Linked DNA regions of Homo sapiens: region 2 is linked to region 1. Evidence: promoter capture Hi-C in human tissues and cell types (Jung and others, 2019). All regions are on one chromosome and are shown on one strand. The core of a region is centred on a gene start or on the middle of the fragment in contact, and the rest is flanking DNA. Distances in the headings are between cores, read along the strand shown. Region 1 holds the start of PDRG1 (p53 and DNA damage regulated 1). Region 2 holds the start of HCK (HCK proto-oncogene, Src family tyrosine kinase).

Evidence for each region. The method cuts DNA at HindIII sites, captures the fragments that hold promoters and counts their contacts. A contact is called where the count stands out against the background at its distance.
Region 2: the fragment with the promoter of HCK here is called in contact with the fragment with the promoter of PDRG1 in region 1 in 1 of the 25 tissues and cell types used here (mesenchymal stem cells).

The regions. Positions count from the first base shown.
Region 1 is chr20:31,950,329-31,953,595 of GRCh38, reverse strand. It overlaps PDRG1 (p53 and DNA damage regulated 1), which reads left to right and starts at 1,550. Exons shown (of 5, transcript NM_030815.3): 1 at 1,550-1,721; 2 at 3,209-3,267. The coding sequence starts at 1,635. The HindIII fragment of the contact is 6,454 bases long and covers 1-3,267 here.
Region 2 is chr20:32,050,800-32,054,066 of GRCh38, reverse strand. It overlaps HCK (HCK proto-oncogene, Src family tyrosine kinase), which reads right to left and starts at 1,825. Exons shown (of 13, transcript NM_002110.5): 1 at 1,581-1,825. The coding sequence starts at 1,642. RefSeq lists silencers at 153-352, 1,406-1,465. The HindIII fragment of the contact is 18,740 bases long and covers 1-3,267 here.

The sequences.
Region 1 (3,267 bases), core at 301-2,800:
TTTTTGGGGAGGGTTTTTTCAGGGTCCGGAAATGGCATGGACACCAGGCACTCCTGGCTTGCTGTGTGATGAGGCACTGCCTTTCTCCTGGCCTCAGTCTGCAGCTGTGAAATGGGGCAGTAATAATCCCATCCATACAAAGGTTGCTTTGACACTCAAGTAAGGCAAGGGGTGTGAAGGGGCTTGGTTACAAGAGGTCAAAAGGAGAGAATAAAACGCTGGAATCAGGGAGGCGAGACATCAGAGTGATAATATCGGTTCTGCTCTTTAGACTTTCAAAGTCCTTTCCCAGCGCCTTTTACAGCCATGTGGGCTCAATGCCTCCTTCCCTCTGACCTCCTGCCTGCTTCCCCCCCGCCCATTCTGTTCCACATACGCTGGCTGTTCCCTCTGCCTGGAACACTCTTCTCCTAGGCATCCACATGGCTCACCCCTCACCTTCTTTTCAAAGCCTTGCCTCTCTCTGAGGTTTGTTTTTTCCAGCTATCCAATGAGGAGTTTGGGCGTGAAGACCTCGTGGGAACCCTCTGGTTCTGATGGTAACCATTTTCCACCTGCCTGCCTTCTCTGGGAAGTCCTCCCAATCCTACCACCCACACCCACCTGCTTTTCTGAGCTAGCACTTCATTGCTTACTGCCCATAGTTTTCAAGTCCCTTCCTTATGTATAGGCCAGCTACTCTGGACATTGGGCCCAACACAGGGGCTCAAGTGAACTCTGGTTAAACGGAATTAAAAGTGATTACTGCTTCCTTTGTTTTTTGAGACAGAGTCTCGTTTTGTCACCCGGGCTGGAGTGCAGTGGTGCCATCATAGCTCAGGGCAGCCTCGACTCCCCAGATGCAGGTGCTCCTCCCGCCTCAGCCTCCTGAGTAGCTGGGACCAACGGGCGCGCCCCCCCTCACCCAGCTAATTTTTTTTTTTTGTATTTTTAGTAGAAACGGAGGTTTTACTGTGTTGCCCAAGCTGGTCTCGAACTCCTGGGCTCAAGTGATCCCCCCGCTTTGGCCTTCCAAAGTACTGGGATTACAGGCATGAGCCACTGCGCCCAGCTGATTCCTGCTTCCTTCCGATCCTGTGGAGAGACACTGAGGCGGATTTTTATTCACCCCCTTTTTATAAATTAGAAACTGAAAGTGTCAGAGATTAAACATAAGTCACACTGCCACATGGGCCTTCTTGGTGTTTCTTAGCCAGGGGAAGAATAATATTTCCCAGATCCTAATCACTACCTGCCACGGTATATAATTGTTTTGCCATTAATTGTCGGTGTTTCCCACTAGGATGAAGTTCCATGAGGGCAGGGATTTTGTTGTGTTCACTGCTGCATCCTAAGCACATAAAACTGCTTGGCACATAATAAGTGCTCAAGAAGCATGAACCGAGGGAGTAACGGGTCAGAGGCAGCCCGAGGACTGAGCTCTCTGAGCCTGCAGAGGGCGCTCCAGCCCCGCCCCCAAAGCTAGGCCCCGCCTCTCGCAGCCGGCTGGCGCACTAGTGTTAGAGCCTGCGCACCACCGTTCTTTTAACTGCGCAGGCGCGCCGGAAGCACCTAGAGAGCGGCGCGTGCGCAGCGGGAGTCGAAGCGGAGATCCCGGGGTCGCGCGAGAGCCGCAAGCGGAGTTGGTGGGCGCTATGCTATCACCCGAGGCAGAGCGAGTGCTGCGGTACCTTGTAGAAGTGGAGGAGCTCGCCGAGGAGGTGCTGGCGGACAAGCGGCAGGTGAGAGGCCCCTCCGCGGCGCTGGGGCCTGGCGGCCGGCGCCGTGGGAAAGCGCGCGGGGTCGCAGTGAGTTGACCTGGACAGGCGGTTAACGGCTCCGAGGCGACAGACCTGGGCCGATAAATATTCGGCCGCTACTAAGTGAGCGCCTGCGCTATGCTGGACATTCCTCTCTCTTCATCCTTTCTCTGCCCCTTGCCATGCTCTGTGGATCTCGACCCATCATGCTCTGGGCCGTTTCCCTGAGCACCTGTTTCAAAATGCACTTCCCGGCCCCATGGTTGATCTAGGGGCACCGCCCTGTAAAGGCCCTCAGGGGAGAGCTGGAACCGAAAAGAAGCCTGAGGGGGCCTTGTGACCGGGCAGGGGTGGGGACGTGGGGGAAGGTGGCGCCCTGTTTATGGGGTGTCTTGTTTTAAGTGCCAAGTTTTTGAGGGGAGTTCCTGGGGGAAGGAGGGTGACGTAATTGGATTTAGGTTTTAAAAGGATCCCCCCTGGCTGCTGTGTGGAATACAGAATATAGGTGGGCAAGGGCGGAGGCAGGGAGATGGGTGAGGGGCCATTGGTATGGTCCAGACCAGAGATGGATTTGGACTAGGTAGTGGTGGTGGAGAGAAGTGAAGGGGTCAGAAATGTATTTTGGAGACAGACTCAGTAGGCCGTGGTAGTGGAGCCGGGGGAGTCGTGACTCCCTCTCATCTCCAGTTAGAAGGGTCAGGTATTTACTGAGAAGGGGAAAACTTGGGCAAGATCCTGTCAAATTAAGTACTGGATCAGGGTGTGCTGGATGAGAATAAGAGCAGTTAAAGTTTATCAGCTACTTACTATGTGCCAGGTACTGTGTTAAGTCATTTAATTGCTGGCTCAATAACCTGTAAGGTAGGTACTGTCCGTAGCTCCATTTTGAGGAGGAGTAAATAGGAAGGTGAAATTACACAGCTTGAGGCAGATAGCAGGATTCGAACCTGGGTATTCCAAATCCAGAACCAGCACTCGTGCAGTATACTGTACTACTGCGTCACTTCCTTAGTAGCTATTGTGTTGTTACCACTGTCTCAGTGCCCCCAATCCTGCTGTTCCAATCTAGTATTGTTGGGTTTCTCATATTACTAGTTCAGAATCAGCTGGAGAAGTTTGTCCAAAAATAAACATTAGGCCTGCTTAATCACAGTGTGTAGGGGAAGGGTTTCCACTCCCCTGGTGATTCTGATATGCCCTAAAGTTCGAGTGGATAATGCAGAATTTCCCATTTAGTCAGCACATGTTTTCTCAGCATCTTTTCTGGGGAGAGGGCAGCTGCACAAAGCATTGTCTTTAAGACCAGGAAGCTGAGTGAGAGAAGAAATACATTCACACATCAATCCATTTTAGGCAGGACGTTGAATGTAATCAGGAATAATGCATTGCCTCTGCAACCCTTGTCTGTCAAGAGGTGACAGCTTGGGGCAAGAGATAGCTGAGTTCCCTCCTGTCCCTGTGGTTTTCAGATTGTGGACCTGGACACTAAAAGGAATCAGAATCGAGAGGGCCTGAGGGCCCTGCAGAA
Region 2 (3,267 bases), core at 576-3,075, 100 kb before region 1:
GACATCTAATATATTATTATCTTCACTTTTCTGTATTTTAACCTGTCACCCCCTCCCCTAAAAAAAAAAGGACCATAAAGAGAAAACCATGGGATAAGGCAACTGATAGGCATTGAGGCCTTTCTCTGTGCCAGGCATAGGCTACCCCAGTGGTTCTCAAAGTGTCCTCCTTGGATCAGCAGCAGCAGCATCACCGGGGATGGAAGTTCTCATTGTCCTGCACAGAGCTACTGAATCAGAAACTCTAGGATTCGGCCCAGCAATCTGTTTTCACAAGCAGTCCAGGTGATGCTGATGTAGGCTAAAGTCTGAGAACACGGGGCCATATGTCTAGCTAGGGCAATGTTAACATACATTAAGCCTGTGTACTGTCAGACAGCATTCTCAAAGCTTTCCTTCAGTAACTTTTTTTTTTTTTTTTTTTTTTTTGAGACAGAGTCTCTCTCTGTCGCCCAGGCTGGAGTGCAGTGGCGCGATCTCGGCTCACCGCAACCTCCACCTCCCAGGTTCAAGTGATTCTCGTGCCTCAGCCTCCCGAGTAGCTGGGATTAAAGGTGTGTGCTACTACGCCCGGCTAATTTTTGTACTTTTAGTAGAGACGGGGTTTCACCATGTTGGCCAGGCTGGTCTCAAACTCTAGACCTCAAGAGATCCACCTGCCTCGGCCTCCCAAAAAGCTGAGATTACAGGCGTGTGCCACCCTGCCCGGCCCCTTCAGTACCCAATTAATCCTCTAAACAACCCTGTGAAGGAGGTACTATTACTCTCCCCATCCTGCAGTTGTGAAAACAGAGGCAAAGAAAGGCCAAATCCTCTACCCCAGCCCCAACAGGCAGTTTGCCCCTAGAAGCCCCCTCCGCTACCCACTAGCCTGTCTCTCACACGCACCACCTCTCGCATACTCCAATTTCCTGCATCCTTGCAAGAAAGACTTCATAGCCCCGTTTTACAGATGAGGAAACGAATTCGGAGGCGGAGAATTCGTCCAAGGAGGAAAGAGACAGGGCATGCATGCAGTGTGGTCTGGGGCCAGGAGGTTTGGGGGTTTGACCTAGACCTGTTGTGGGAGGAGGGGCAGAGAGCCGACCAGCTGCAGCCGGCCTGGGTGTGGCTCGCACGTCACGCCTCCGCCCAACTACCCCCTTCCCCAAGCTGGCTGCCAACCCGGCGTGACCCGGCCCCCACCGGGAACCGTAAGGGCCTTCCCCTTCCCGGGTTCTGTGAAGCCCCATCCCTTCCTTCTTTTTCTTTTTTAAATTAAAAAAAAAATCCCCGCCCCCCCCCAAGAAGGGGAACCTGGACGGCCCAGAGAAGTGGTGGATAAAGTCACTGCACGGGCCCGAGCGTCCCCTTCCCCGGGAATCCAGCAGTCCGCAACAGTGCCGCCCCTCCCTAGGGCACCCTCCACTCGCTGTCGACCCCTCATCCCCCGGGCTACCCGCGGCTCCCCCGACGTTCCGTCTCCCCTCGCTGCCCCCAGCCGCACCCGTAGCCAGCCCTCCCCAGGCTCCTGGGCTCCCTCCGCCTCCTGGGACCCCTCGCGGGCCGGGTATTCCCGGTCCCCTGTGCGCGGCACTCACCTGGGCGCCCGCTCCTCGTCTCGCGGGCAGCCCGGATCCTCGCAGCTTGAGCGCCCCCCCAGCTCGGCAGCCCCTGAGGTTCCGGGGTGCCAGTGCCGGGAAACTGACTTTCTAGAACTAGAGGCGGGGGCGACGCTCTGAGGGGCTTTGGTGCCGCGGGCGTTTCTCGTCCTGCACTGTCTGAGTCCCTTCCCACTCGCCTCTAAGCCTCTGATGTGCTCCCGAGCTGGGACCAGGGACGTGGTGGCGCCCGCAGGCCATCTGGGCGCCTTAGCCGCGCCCTGAGCGAGGCTAACTCCGCCCCAAGTGTCCTAACACCTCCCCGAAGATTCAGACGCCACCCCAGGATCCTAACCGGCTCCCCGAGGGTCATAACCTCCGTCTCCTGCAAGAAGGATCCCAAACCCTCCACGAAGAGAAAAAAAATATTAGCACCATCCATAGGAGGCTTCTAACGCGTCCACCAAGGATGCGAACCCCCATCCCTTCCGCTCCACTTTCCCTAACACCTCCCCATCCCACCGCCCAGCGTCCTACCCCAGTCTCCAAAGGATCCCAAATCCCACTCCTAGGGATTCGAACCCGCCCGTCTAAGAACCCCAGCACCCGCTCCAAGGCTCCCAAGATACTAACCCCGCCCCGCCAAAGGATTTTTAATCCCACCTCTGAAGGATTTTTAAACTCAACTTGCCCCCAAAGATTCTAATCTGCCCAGTGGAAGGATCCGAACTCTCACTTCAGTGGATTCTAACCCTGCCCTAAGATTTAGAACACAAACCCCAGGGTTCCAATACCGCTCCTGCTCCTGCGCGATCTAACCTCCCGCCGCCTAAGAGTTTTAATACCCAGGGGTCTATACCGCCGGTCCAAAGATTCCAACCCTGCCCTTCAGAGATCCTAACCCCACCTATCAAGGGATTCCTGCCACAGTCTTCAAAGATTCCAACCCACCCTGGAAAGGCCTTACCCTACCCCGGAAGCATCGTGATCTCTTTTCCCCACCACTCCGACCCCTCCCTTCTGGCCCGGCCCTCCCCAACTCCGCGGCCCGAGACTTCCAGGCAGGTCTGTGGTCAGCGGTTTCTCTTCCGCAGGCCTGCTCCATTCAGACACCATGCAAAGTTCCTCTCTCGAAGGAACCACCATGGCCATGCAAAGTTCCCTGCCCGAAGGAACCACCCTGGCTTCCTGGCAGCTCAGAGGACTCCCAAGCTGGGGGAGGTGGTCGGGGGAGGGGAGGAGTCGGGCTGGAGGGTGACTGAGGCCCCAAGTGGATGGGATTGTGCCCAGCTCCAGGCAAGGGCAGAACACACCCTCTCCTGGAAAAGACAGGGGCTATCACCCTAAATGCTGTGTAACACACCTCCAAAATCTCCAAAACTACAAGAATTCTACCGCGTCTCTCTATTCCCGTTGCTACCAGCTGATCAGGACCACAGTCATTTCTTCATTCATTCATTCATAATTCATTCAGCAAAGCTGTCCTGGGGGCTGGGGAATGCAGGGGTTCTTAAATTTGGCACTATTGACATTTGGGCCAGGTAATTCTTTGTTGCGGGGGACTGTCCTGTGAATGATAGGATGTTTAACAGCATTCCTGGGCTCTACCCACTAGTTGTCTATAGCATCCTCCTCCCTAGTTGTGACAACAAAATGTCTCCAGACATTTGTAAAATGTCCCCTGGTG